3 separate regions of the Homo sapiens genome follow, and all the other regions are linked to region 2. Evidence: promoter capture Hi-C in human tissues and cell types (Jung and others, 2019). All regions are on one chromosome and are shown on one strand. The core of a region is centred on a gene start or on the middle of the fragment in contact, and the rest is flanking DNA. Distances in the headings are between cores, read along the strand shown. Region 1 overlaps LOC105373953 (a long non-coding RNA gene). Region 2 holds the start of COL6A3 (collagen type VI alpha 3 chain). Region 3 has its middle 6.4 kb from the start of PRLH.

The links. The method cuts DNA at HindIII sites, captures the fragments that hold promoters and counts their contacts. A contact is called where the count stands out against the background at its distance.
Region 1: a contact is called between a fragment that was not itself captured here and the fragment with the promoter of COL6A3 in region 2, in 1 of the 25 tissues and cell types used here (aorta).
Region 3: a fragment that was not itself captured here is called in contact with the fragment with the promoter of COL6A3 in region 2 in 1 of the 25 tissues and cell types used here (bladder).

The regions. Positions count from the first base shown.
Region 1 is chr2:237,231,951-237,236,725 of GRCh38, forward strand. LOC105373953 (a long non-coding RNA gene) reads left to right here. Exons shown (of 6, transcript XR_924035.3): 4 at 3,158-3,329. Among named protein-coding and RNA genes, the nearest start is that of COPS8, 150 kb to the left of the region's middle. The HindIII fragment of the contact is 4,205 bases long and covers 167-4,371 here.
Region 2 is chr2:237,411,497-237,416,479 of GRCh38, forward strand. COL6A3 (collagen type VI alpha 3 chain) reads right to left here and starts at 2,668. Exons shown (of 44, transcript NM_004369.4): 1 at 2,457-2,668. The HindIII fragment of the contact is 4,662 bases long and covers 920-4,983 here.
Region 3 is chr2:237,558,020-237,562,294 of GRCh38, forward strand. No RefSeq gene overlaps it. Among named protein-coding and RNA genes, the nearest start is that of PRLH, 6.4 kb to the right of the region's middle. The HindIII fragment of the contact is 5,430 bases long and covers 1-4,275 here.

The DNA.
Region 1 (4,775 bases), core at 1,019-3,518, 180 kb before region 2:
GATGAGACAGACCGCCGAGTGCTCCAGGCTTCAAATCCTAAAGAAGTCAACAGATGGAGGAAGGACCATGATGTGAGTCTTCCAGAATGCCTCCCTTGCCAGAGGGTTGTGGGCTTGGAGTCTTGTGACAGCCCAGATGCTTTCTGCCGGCCACAGGGTAACACCATTACAAACTGTCCCCGAGAGCTGGAGGACACCTCGCTCCCCTCTCCCTCTCCAGATGCTTTTATTTTAAGTTGCAAGGCTCAGTCCCAACTCTTCATCCAAGTCAAAGTTTTTTTTTCCAAGTGTCTACCAAGTTTCAATGCCACTGAAGCCTTTCATTCTATGTCTAAGAATAGCACTGGGTCAGAAAACATCTTCCTTCTCTCTCACTTGGGGTTACTGACCCAAATACTGGCACTTGAAAAACAGAAAAGGCCTAGTTGTCACCACATGGCTCAAGGGAGTCACAGCAAGGAAGGTTGAAAACAAGTGCCAAAGGAACAGACATGAGTCAGCTTTGGAACCTTCTAGAAAACTAAGCCAAGGAGTTTAGATTTTGTCTCTTTTTGCTGCTGTTGGAGGAGATGGAAAACCAACACATATTTGTTGAGTGAATGAATGATTGAAATGTTTTAGAACAATAATTTGGGTAATAATGGAGAGTGAGTTTGACAAGAGAAGGAAAGAGAGGATGCCCCAGGCAGGCACATTGCTGAAATAACTGTTACGCACTAAGAAAGATGGGCCAAGGAGGGAGGATCATGAGGTCAGGAGTTTGAGACCAGCCTGATCAACATGGTGAAACCCCGTCTCTACTAAAAATACAAAAAGTATCCAGGCATGATGGTGTGCACCTGTAATCCCAGTTACTCAGGAGGCTGAGGCAGGAGAAACACTTGAACCCGGGAGGCGGAGGTTTCAGTGAGCTGAGATCGTGCCACTGCACTCCAACCTGGGCAACAGAGTGAGATTCCATCTCAAAAAAAAAAGAAAAAAAGAAAGATGGGGCAGGTCTGGACTGGGACAAGCACAAGTGGAATTAAAGATGCGGAGGGGTTGTAGAGACCTTTAAGAGCTGGAATTGATTATTAGTTGTCAGGAAGAAGAAGAAGAAATCAAGGATCTCTCCACATCATGAGGCTAAGTGTGGCAACACCAACAGCAATGGAGACAAGTGTGTAAGGCAACACATTAGGTTTTGGCCATGAACATGTCTAAATGCATATGTCAGGTAGGCGGGGGGTGCATGCTGGAGATCAAGAGAGAGATTGAGTCTAGTGTGCCAGGAGTCACTTGATTGATACTAGTTGCGGGACTAATATGTTCACCAGAGGATGCATTGAATAGAAGTGAGCAAGAAACTCGAGAAAGCATTCCCAATGCCTGGTCCTATTAATCCATCTCCAGTGCAACCTTGGCTGCAACATTGCTACTGTCCTTTCTGGCAACATTACATGGGTGGCTTATTAACCTACCTTGGAAAAGAGGTTGTCTGAGCCTGGGTTTCTCTCCACCCCACTGCCATGAAAGCAGAGTTTTAGCCAAGGACTTGTGTGCAGGTATTTTATTTAAAATGTAATCCCAGAGAATAGAAGTAAGGGATCAGGGAGAGTAAAGGAAGGAGGAAAAGCCCATAATGGGCCAACAGTCCATTATGAAAAGTGCACTATAAAGTTGTTGTGGGCAACAGGGGCTCAGTCCCACCTGGACCTAGGAGGAGCCTGCAGAATGCCTCCAGAATTGGCCTCCTGAGGACCCAAAGGGAACACACTTACTATGAGCCCCCATACTACATTGGGTGCCCCCAGGGGCATTACCACCCCACACTTCTAGATGCCCCTATATGTTTGTCAAGTGGGGACCTGCCAGGTCCATAGCAACAGAGAGGCTCCGGGGCAGAGAGTGAAGGAGGCAAGCTCATGCCTGAGGCCGGAGATGTCAGCAAATGTGACTGGAAGCACCCACAGAGCTTCCCATCATCAGAACTACAATCTAAGGGAAGCCAGGAAGGTGCAGGGAGGGGGTCTGGAGGTATATGATACATGGACCCTTTGAACTCCTCAGATCCACTCCTGCCTCACATTACATCCAGTTCCACCAAGACAAAATATTCAAGGTGGTAGTTGAACCAAAGTCTTCCAAAGACTCAACACACTGGGTCAGTGGAAGAAGGCACAGTCCCCACTGCTGCAATGGACCCAGAGGCCTCTGTTGTTACTCTTCACCTCATTCCTTCACCATCCTTTCCAGATCCTCCCCTCTATTTCAGCTAACATTTCAGCTGGTCTAGGTTGCTTGCCTAGACCTAAAGCTTAGATGACCTAAACCTTCCCCCTTGATGGGTCTCAGTGTTTGGCTGTCTTTCTTTTTTCAGGCCATGATTGCTGCAATTGCCTGTTACTGTTTTAGAATCACTAAGAGATGTTCCAGGGAATTCTGTAGGCTCCACCCCAGGAACACCTCTAGATCCTGATGACAGACTCAGTTACCCCTCCTTACTTGACTGTGAATCTGCAGGCATAGCAAGACCGAAATGAACAAGCTGTACTCGTAGGCTCTGAATCAGTGAACACCATGTCCCTGGAGGAAGTTCTATCCCAGGAAATTGGGGCCTGTGCTTCAGCAGGGTCTGATGTTATAAGAATGAGAAGCACAAATTCCACAGTGGATTAATGGAAGCTACAGGACCAGAGGCAATTCTACTTCAACTCCTTGTTGCACAAGCCTAAATATTGTAGCAAATGGGGAACCCGTGCATCAGCTGTGAGCTTACTCCATATGTTGCATTCCGGGGTACAACACCCCTAAATAAGTAGAAGACTTGGTCCTTTAATAGGTGCATAATTCTGGTATGCCAGATGTTCCCTGGCGATGTGATATATGGTAAGACCAGCAGATTCGTAAAATAGGTCTTCTGGTCCAAAGCCATGGTTTGTAGAATTGCATGTCAGTAAACAGGCATTCAGTAAACTCTAGAATGGCAGTTGTCAGAGGACAAGTGACAGACCAAGTCTACTGCAGTTCACCCACTGGGATGATTCCCTTCAACCGTTATTCTTTAGGGGCACCCTGATTATGGCCACTGTGTGAAAACAGTCCATTCTTGGCTCCCCCAGCATTTCTAGTCAACCCATCTTAGAAGCAAGTCTGAGTTATTTTTTTTATGCATCAGGTGATTAGGACCTGATGAAATTAGGTCCCGGCACAGGGAGGTGGATGAAAGTGAACTGAGAAGCATCTGGACCACTTCTTCTTGCATTTTGGTGCCTTCTGGACCTGCTCCCATACGTACCCCTACCATCATCCAATGGATTGCTACAGCATTCACTGAATCTGATGACTTGGTGAGTCTGACACTTCCCACTTCATAATGGATGGTTTGTCCACAGTCACTTAATACCCCAAGACCAGATGCTCTGGCCCTACTAAGGCCCAGTAGCATGCCAGGAACTTCTCTTCAAATGGGGAATACCTGTGAGCCACAGAAGGCACAGCTTTGTTCCAGGACTCCAGTGGTCGACACTGCAACTCACCTATTGGGCTTGTAACAACCACAACTCCACATTCTTTTCCACCACAAGCTTTGGATCTGCAGCGTCAGATAGCCTGAAGTGTAGGGCAGCCTGACCTGTGAACATGCTGCAGAGCCGACTCTAGTTCTGGGCTTTACTCCAAACTGGCAGCCTTGCAGATCCCTCAGTACATAGGTCAAGGCAGTGTTCAGCACAGTGTAAATGGCTTTCAATTCCAAAGAGAACAACATAGCTTTTTGCCTCTTTGATGGTGGTAGGGGGTGTGAGATACAATAATTTTTTATTGGGAAGAGATCACAGCATGTCCTAGACTAGTGACCCCCTTAAAATGTCATCAATGTGAGAGACTCCTGACTCTTTGTAGGTTTTATCTTCCACTATCTGGTACAAATGTGTCTTACGAAGGCATCCAGAGTACTTGTCATTTTCTGCCCACCAACTGGAATTAACATTATGACTCATATAAGGGACTAGTGTATCATACTATGGGTTGCCAAGATGATCAAAGCCCCTGCTTACTTTTTTGTCACAGAAAGCAGGAGAGTTAATATAGCCCTGGGATAAAGGGCTAGCGTGGTGAATACATGACTCCATGCGTTTGTCAAAACCTATAAAAATGGACACCACAAAGTGAATTTTAATGTATATACATTTTTCTAAAATCAGCTACAATGTTCAGGGACCCAAAAATGGAATATACACAGAGAAAAAGTAAATGTACCTAACTTTATTATAAATAAATAGTATAACCACACTGGAAGGGATGAGGAAGAAAAGAACTAACCTAGATAATGCCAAAAAAATTTATTAAGACTAAGAACAAAATCTACACACAAATAGAGTACTCTAGTTAGTACATTTGTTTTTCACAAGAGAATGAGTCACTACTCTGAAACCATACTATGAGTAGGGAACAAATATGTAAATAAAGTACAGAAAAAGGGAGCCACATGTCTTACTGTCAGAGAAATTAGTTACGAATACAAAGAGGTGACAGCTAGAATCATCTTTCGGCTATTCTATTGGAATTGGAGGCATCAGTATGAACTCATGGATTTTTAATGGATAGATAAGTATAGAGGGACAATGGTGCTGATGAAGATAGATAGGCAAAATAAATATAGATGTGTGTTTATGCATGAATGTGTGCACAAACATACATTCCCTAACTTTGAACTGAATGGGAAGAGACTAAAAGCAGTGGCACCACAGGGCCAATGAGCATATCTAGCACCCAGATCTTGAGTTCTAAATACT
Region 2 (4,983 bases), core at 1,418-3,917:
GTTTCAAGCTGGCTTTAGGCATCCAGGTCTATGGGTTCCGTTCCTGAAACTAAGGTCAGGATGAGCAGCCTCATTGGAACCATAAATCAACAATCGACTGAAGAGAGGAGCTTCTTCCTACTTTCTCATCGGGGACGTATTAAGTTCTAGGATAGGAAATCACAAAAGGCACTGATGATAAAGTCAGTGCAATTTGCTGAGTCCTGAATGCTTTAGAAATAAAATGAAGTGTGAAGTAAAGACAATTTTTCAGAAAGGTGCCTACCTCGTATCAAAAATATCATTCAGACCCCAGGTTTGGACATTTGCCACATGTCCCCTCACCTGTGGGCCACAACTATAGTGGGGTGGAACACGCTCCCTGCCAAGCAGGGAAAGAGCGGGGCCAAGGGCTAACATTCTAGAGGCTTCCCCAGCCACCTCCCAGAAAGGTGCTGTAGCCACACCCTCCAATGCCTGGATAGGAAAAGCCAGGACAGCCTCACTTCACCCCAACATGGAATTCCTTCCCAAGCCCTCTGCTCCACTCAGTGTCTGCTTCCTGGCTTCTCTCGACCATGAGTGAGGAAAGGAGAGAACTAAACCTCTGGGTAGCAAGAAACCCCCTAAACAAAGAAGTCCAGACAGGCAGCTGTTCCTACATCCTGATCTTTGTAAAAGCCACGCCTCCCCACCCAGGCTTTCATCCTCAGCTACAAGCCCACTTCAGAAAGAAGAGCATACAGGTCCCCTCCTTCAGCGCCCTCCACCCCCAGGAGGTGGCCTGAGCAGGGCGGCCAGCCCCGGTATTCCGGTCACGGAACCGATGCCCCCGCCCCACGGTCCACCTCCCTTCTTTCTCGGTTCATTGGTAGAGTCTTAGTGAGCCCAAAGCAGTTTTCCCAACGAGATGTGAGTTATTTGGGATCCTCCGTCACTGGCTTGTCTGCTCTCCTTCAATGGGGAAGGATTTCACTGCCATCTCAGGCACTCGCTCCCTGGCCTGGGCAAGGAATTCCGCATCTCAGAGCCCCTGGTTGCTCATTTTGAAAACCAGGAAACTACTGCATCAGTGGCTTCTGACCAAAAATCTCTTCCATTATCTTTAGCCCAACAAAAACCTCAGAAGTCCCAGTAATGTCATCAACGGCCACCCACTCAGTTTTCAATATAGTTTTGCTTAGGAGCAATGTAACTTTGATTTTAAAGCCATTTCGGTTGTTTTTTACAGCATTAAGAATGGGACCCTGGGGAGCTGGGGGATCCCAGGTTGAGCATCCACCATCCCCGTGAGCTCTGAGCACCCTGCAGCTCTAGCACCCTGTGGTCCTCGCCGGGGTGAGCTGTATGTGGGGAGAGAAGCCAGTCAGCCGGGGCCACAGCCCTGCCTCCCCATCCAGCACAGCAGACTCCCCTGTGCTCAGAGGGGTTTGCTCCTGGGGTCTGCACCGGCCTCGAAACTGGCTCCTGGGGCTTCCTGTGGAAGCAGATTTTTCTTTAACCACTCCCTAGTCCCTCCCAGTGACCCCACCCATACTTCAATACCCGTTCATTATCCAACATAGTAGGCCCCTTGAAACAGGTTCCCCAAACAGGCTGGCCACTGTCAGCGAACGTGTCCATCCTCAGCAAGAGAGGGCCCGAGCCCCACCCTGCATCCTCCGGGCCAGAGAACAGCCCTCGGGGCCTCCCAGCTCGGCACTGGCCTCACCTCTGTGCAGCATGGGCTGGCCCTGCAGCCCCAGGGGCCCTGCCTTAGACACTCAGCATGCTGCCCAAATGCCCAATTCCTTCTTCTCCTCTGACCCCTGCAACTCCTTTAAGCAACCCCAAGGGACAAAGTCTCCAATAGAGACTTCAGGTTCCTGGAAAGACGAAAGCTTGACGGCAATGACTGAGCGACCCTTTACTTGGCCCTGATCCTGAGCACCAGAGTTACTCCAATCTTGTGAAAGCAGCAAATGTGCTCCACCAGGACCTTCCCATGGGCGGCCCTGGGCAGAAAACCCATGCAGGTTGTTGCACCCTGACCTAGTGTCACCACCCAGAGAGCTCAGAGAACATCTCCCAGCGGAGCCGCCCGGCAGGGAGCTATGCTAGTCCTCAGCAAAGACGCTTCTGCAAACAAAGCGGATCCCGAATGGGTTTTAGAAGGCGGCAGTAACTTAAATAAATCATGGGCCGAAACACACTGCCGCCCGGAATGCACAGGGCGCGTGTAGCAGCCACAGACACGCGGTGGAAAAGTGCTCACACTCTTAGGCAATCATGACCTTAACCAATTTAAGGAAATCCCATTGCCATAAAGTGAGAAAGAAAAATCAGCGGAATCTTCCAGAGACCTAAAACATGTACAGAAAACTGGCGATCAGCATGAACGTAAGAGCCACTAACGCTACCTAGAAAGGATCACTTCAGGTTAAGAGCATTTCCTTCTAGCCCCAAACCTGGAAAAACAGAAGAGAAATCACACTTACCCCTGAGCAAACCTGAAGGCGTGTGTCCCTGGGCTCCTCGATTCAATTAGGTTTGAATAGGATGCATACTTTTCCCACTCACTGCGTCTCTTTTTCTTTTTGCAGCCTTTCTCCACCAAAAAAGTGGAGACTCAGAGCTGCGGAGGAAAACTCTTGCAGTCCTTGCAGGAGGCTGGAGCCCAGGAGAACTGAACGGCCTTTGGTGGAAGACTGAGCTCCAAACTGGACTGGGGCCAGGGATACCAGTCAGGGCTTCCTCCAGCTCCTCCTCCTCCTCCTCCTCCCTCCCGGACCCCTCCTCTCCCCCTCCTCACTGCAGAACTGACCCAAAACTGTAAATGAAACCAGACTCCTCCACTCTGTTTCTTCTGGCCCCCGCTCAGGCTGATGTCACCCTCTGAATTCTGTCTTCACCCTACAAGCGTTTAGCTGGACTCCTGCAAGCCCCAACTCTTAAAAAAAAAAATTGACCACTCCTACTCGTCACCTTTTGGGCTGGGCCCTTGGCGTCAAAAAGAATAAATTTTGGAATTTCTTCGTGGGTATCCATGGTTTTCCTGCAATGTTTTCCAACACCATCTGAAAGGAAAACAGGAAATGCAGTCCCCCGCTTACCCTCACCACACCCTCCCATTTCTTCTTGAAGTTTCTGAATTGAGACTTCTACTAATAACTTCCCCCTTCAAATAGAAAAACCAGCAATTAAAATCGCCTTGGTTTTCTGTTAACCAAAGCTCTGTTCACCGGCAAAAAAAAGGAGGCTACATTTCTCTTAATTTCTATATCTAATGATTCTGATTGTGGCGCTTATAGGCCCATTCTAGGCACAGACGGGGTAATAAAAATGGTTATCTTGCCAAAGCTTCGGGAAAATACTTGAGTAAGAACTTCTGTTTCTAGAAAGCTTTGCACATTTCAAAACACTTCAATATACATTCTCTCCTTTATCACAAACATCAACACCCTAAGCCCTTTTAAATAGAAAGATGTCTTCTTTTATTAGGTGAAATTGTGGTCCCATTTTACAGATGAAAGAAACAGGCTGGGCACGGTGGCTTATGCCTGTAATCTCAGCACTTCGGGAGGCTAAGGCAGGCAGATCACAAGGTCAGGAGTTGGAGACCAGCCTGGCCAACATGGTGAAACCCCTACTAAATCTCTACTAAAAATATAAAAATTAGCCAGGCATGGTGGCAGGCGCTTGTAGTCCCAGCTATTTGGGAGGCTGAGGCAGGACAATTGCTTGAACCCAGGAGGCAGAGGTTGCAGTGAGCCGAGATGGCGCCACTGCACTCTAGCCTGGGCAACAGAGTGAGACTCCAAAAAAGAGAAAAAGGAAAGAAAGAAAAGAAATGAAAAGAAAAGAAGAGAAGAGAAGAGAAGAGAAGAGAAGAGAAGAGAAAAAAGAAAAAAAGAAAAGAAAAGAAGAAAAGAAAAGAAGTTCCGAGAGAGTAAGTGACATCGTCATTGTCCAGTCTGGGTTAGTAACAGAGCTCAAATGACAACCCAGCTTTGGCCATCCCCAAACTTCTCACTGCTCTCCCATCATGTGGTCCTTATGAAAAGTCCATTAATGTGAAATATCAAGAGACATCCGAAAGGTTCTTTTTGACTGAGAGATCCTTCCAAACCAAGTTTGAAGAGCAAAGAAATCATTAACTCCTTTCCATGGATTATCTCCCTCCAATTTAGGGAAGAAAGGAGACAGCACCCCAGAGAGAATGCCTGCTCCCCTCTGCAGCTCCAGGGCTCCCTTCCTCTCCCATAAAGAAGCCCAACCCATCTCTAAACCAAAGGGCTCACTTGCAGAGCACTGGAGTAGGGAACAAGGATGGAACCTGAATTATGGGGTTCTTAGGTGAAGACACGCTGAGCAGAGGCTCCGAGTATAGAACCGCGCTGCCTGCATGACATGTAGAAGGACAACACGCCCCTCCAGCGGCATCCAATTCTCTGCCCTCATCCTCTCTGCACAGTGCAGGCGTTGACTCAAGCCCCTACAGAGACCGGGGATACTTGCTGCCACCCCCTTGGTTAGAGTCTGCAACTTCAGCACTAAGGAGGACTATTTCTCCCAGAACATTGTCTGCTGCGAAGAAGACAATCTTTGATTACAACCCCATGCTCCAAGCAGCTCAGCAAACTGAGGTTAACTGAACAAGCACGTTTTAGGTGTTTCCACTCCACGGTTTCTTTCAAATACAAATACACTCTTTTTCGCAAAATCGCTAGGCAGATGCATTCCTTGGTATTGAAAGTTTCTATTACAGTCGACCTCGTATCCATGGGTTCTGCATCCATGGATTTAACCAACTGTGGTTCAAAAATGCTTTTTAAAGTAGATGATTGCATATATACTGAACATGTACAGATGTTTTTCCTTGTCATCATTCTCTAAATGACACAGTATAACAACTGTTTACATGGCATTTACACTGTATTAGGTATTATAAGTAATCTAGAGATGGCTTGAAGTACACAGAAGGATGTGCATAGGTTATGTGCAAATACTACACCACCTTCCTTC
Region 3 (4,275 bases), core at 691-3,190, 150 kb after region 2:
CATCGCCTTTCTCCCTGTGCATTTCTGCGCGTCTGTCCTCTTCTTATCAGGACACCAGTTGTTGGATTTGGGGTTCACCTTAATCCAGGATGACCTCATCTTAACTAATTACATCTGCAAAGATCCTAGTTTCCAAATAAGGTCATATTTGAGATTCCAGATGGGAGACTCCAACCCACTACAGAGCACCATTATGGTCCAAGAACTAAAACCAAAACCAGCTATCCATGAAATCAACTGTCCATCATGGTGCTGTTGCTACTTACCAAGTGCCTGCTACAGGCTGCACATTTACCATGTTGAGGGTGAAAGCTCAAAGATCTCAAAACTGAAATGCACCCCAGAGTAGGGTCCTCTCCCCATGTTGAGTACAGGAAGAAAGACTAGGAGGGAGGGAGGCTCTCAACTTGGGGCTCTTTTTTTATATATTTATTTATTTATTTAGAGACAGAGTCCTCCTCTGTCTTCCAGGCTGGAGTGCAGTGGCACGATCTCAGCTCACTACAACCTTTGCTTCCCTGGCTTAAGTGATTCTCCTGTCTCAGCCTCCCAAGTAGCTGGGATTACAGGTGCCCACCACCAGACCCAGCTAATTTTTGTATTTTTAGTACAGACAGCGTTTTGGCATGTTGGCCAGGCTGGTCTCGAACTCCTGGCCTCTTGTGGTCTGCCTGCCTCGGTCTCCCAAAGTGCTGGGATTATAGGCATAAACCACTGCACCTGGCCTTGGAGTGCCTATAATTGCAAAGAGCAGAAATCCACTGAAACCAGCCCAAGTGAAACAGCGAGCGTGAGAGAAGAACACAGAGCCTTCTCTTGGGGACCCAGGAAAACCCAGCGATCCAGTGCAGCAGCCACGGGGGCTGGGGTGGCTCTGCAATGGCCACGGCCTCGAGGCTTCTCAGCCCCCCTTGTGCCCTTCTCTTCCCTCTTGACTGTGAACTGCTCCTCGGCCGGTTCAGCAGGTGGCCTCTCTCAATGGCCTCTCCAACCCCCAACTCTAGGACTGTTCCCTCCAGCGGCCACAACTTATTTTTCCAGATGCCCGAGAGATAGATGGGCGGGGCCGTGTACATGCGAGTTGCTAGCCAACCTAGAGACAGCCTGTGCCAGAGAAGAGGTCGTCTTGCCCGGACAAGCAGGGTAGCAGGTCACTTCAACCCGTTCACACAGCACAACACTCCCACACAGTGCGTTCTCTTGTTCTCCCACTTTACACAATGGTTTTCAGAAACAGCACGAGGCTGTCACAGTGTCGACTGCACACCTGTTGCAACAGTTTGCCAGCTGGAGACCTAGACCCAGGGCAGCAAACGGCAGGCTGGGCCAAAGCCAGCTGCGGCCCATCTTCCTAAGTGAGGTTTCATGGGAGCCCAGCCACACCCATTCATCTGCCTTTTCCCCATGGCTGCTTTTCTGCTGCAACAGCAGATTTGGCCAGCTGCCACCAAGATCCTATGACCCACAAAGCTGGACACGTTTACTATCTGGCTCATGGCAGAAGAAGTTTGCCAGCTCCGTGTTCAAGATTGGATTTGGAGTGTCCCCTACAGACCACAAGCAAACGAGCCGGCAGGTGGGCGCCGTGATACAGTCCCTGACTCGGATGATCCCTTCTTTGTTGCGGGGCAACTCTGCCTTCTTCACTCCTCCCCGCTTCTACCCGCAAGACCCTCCTCCCTGGTACTTTCTCCGGGTCCTTCACTGAGTCGTTTTTCTCTGTCCACCCTCCGCCACCTGTCCTCTTCTTGTCTTCTCTCAGGTGTGCCCACCTTTCCCTGGCTGTTCACAGCCACCTGTCCTCTGTCCACACCCATGTTCAGGTTTACGGCTGAGGCCTCGTTAAAGAGCTCTGGGCTTCTTTGAGGTCTCAAACGTAAGCAAAGAAATAAAGGGTTCCAGGCCCAGCGAGCAGCCACCTGGCCACCCTCTAGGGCTCCTCAAACACCTGCCCACGACTGACCTCAGCATTTCCCCATCCCCAAGGCTCCCATCTTAGCCCCCCAGCTCTCAGTCTGGAAACCCCCGACCCATGACCTCCGAGCTCACTCCTTTTCTGCCCCTCACCTCAGCCCAAGTCCTACCCCATATGTCTCCTAGACAGCTCTGGAATTCCTATCTTTACCAGATCCTTTCCAGAGGACAGGAAAAAGGGGAAGCGTGGCTCCTCTTTCATAAGGCTGGTAAGACCTTCCTACTGAATGCAATGTGAGGAAGGAGAAGTAAAGGCAACATATGTTAACATATTTATTCTATAAATTAAATTTTCTTTTTTGTAGAGATAGGGCGTTGCTATGTTGCTCACGCTGGTCTCAATCTCCTGGCTTCAAGCAATTTTCCCACCTCAGCCTCCCAAAAGTGTGCTTGTACTACAGATGTGAACCACTAAGCACAGCCTAAAAGATCTATTCTAAATAAAGTATTCATGAAACAAATCCCAGAATCTATTAGAAAACCTATTGTATCTTACCAAGGTAAGGTTCATCCCAAGAAAGCCAGGAATTCTTTAATGTTAGAAAAAAATATATATTCTTGCGGTCCACTGTGTTAACAGAGTGAATGAGAAAACCACTGTGATCACTTCATTCAATGAAGAAAGGCACAGAAGAATAAATCAGTAGCTGGCCGGGCACGATGGCTCACGCCTGTTATCCCAGCACCTTGGGAGGCCAAGGTGGGTGGACCATTTGAGGTCAGGAGTTGGAGACCAGCCTGGCCAACATGATGAAACCCCGTCTCTACTAAAAATACAAAAATTAGCCAGGCGTGGTGGTGGATGCCTGTAGTCCCAGCTACTCGGGAGGCTGAGACAGGAGAATCGCTTGAACCTGGGAAGTGGAGGTTGCAGTGAGCCGAGATCGCGCCACTGCACTCCAGCCTGGGTGACAGAGCGAGACTCTGTCTCAAAAAAATAAAATAAAATAATAAATAAATAAGTATCTTAGAAAATTAGGACTGGAAGGCGTGGCAGTCAGCATCTTTGCTGTCATTATACCCGTGGCCTCCAGGAGGGTAGCATGGCAGGCAGTCATACTTTCCCCAGGGAGGGGACTTTCCTGCACAGGTTCTAGTTTGTATGTGCCACAACTCAAGTGGCCACATCACATTCTGGATGAAATACTGACCAACAGAAGCTGGACCAAGAGTGCTTGGCTCTGCCTTTCCTGAGGCCCATGACGCAGTTAAATAGGGGATGGGGAGAAGCTCCCTGACTGCCTGTGGTCAAAACCCATCTGTGGGATTCATTTCTCTAAAAACACTGAAGCCATGTGCATCCTGAAAGCCCCAGGCCAGGCCTGCAGTTCTGTGACATTCTTGCAAGAACAGCCCACACCTCACTCGCCATCACAGCATCTCCGGCCAGCCACAGTGCCTCTCAGCGGTTCTGAGGTCTCTGATGGACACCATCGCCTTCTTCGTGGGGGTGGGGTAAGCAGGATTGATGCCTGTGCTACTGCCCAGCCCGCCTGCTGCCTCCCACTGGTGGACTCCCAAAGTGGCAAGATGCCAGTGCCACACTGTGACAGCGCTGCTTTACACACACACACACACACACTCCAGTGGTGGATGCCCAGAAAGCTGCCCCCAGGTCCTGGGGTCTCAGTTTCTGCTGCTACAGGCAGGCCTAGCACTGGACAGAAAACACACCTCCAAGATGGTGATACTTAACCACCACTATCACCACTACAGGTCAAGTTCCCTTATCCAAAGTACTTGGGACCAGAACTGTTTTGGATTTTAAGGGTTTTTGGGGGGAGGATTTTGAAATATTTGCACTATACTCATGAGTAGAACATCCCAAATTTAAAATCCAAAATGCTTCAATGAACATTTCCTTTGAGAATCAACTCAGCACTCAAAAAGTTTCCGATTTGGGGTTTTTGGATTTGGGATACTCAACCTACATTTGTAAAAACTATGGGTAAAAACTATGGATGGGGAGCTTTTCGCCATCACTGATGCCTGAGCTACCCCCACAAATTCTGATGGAATTCATTCCAGGTACAGCCCAGGCATTAGGAGGTTTTTAAGGCTCCCAAGTGACTCTAATCAGCAGCCCAAGCTGGGAGCTGCGAACCCCACCCCATCACCCTTCCCGTGCTGCTTACCCTACTTCCCGCCTCCAGCTACCCCTGGGCTCCAGAGCTCCCAGGGAGCCCACCAGCCACAAACCTGTGTCACTGGGAAAAACAACTACGCAGCAAGGAAGAAGCCACTGTGTCCTGTTCCCTGAAGGGGAAAGTATTGCCCAGAAGCTTTTCCTAAAGGATGGAA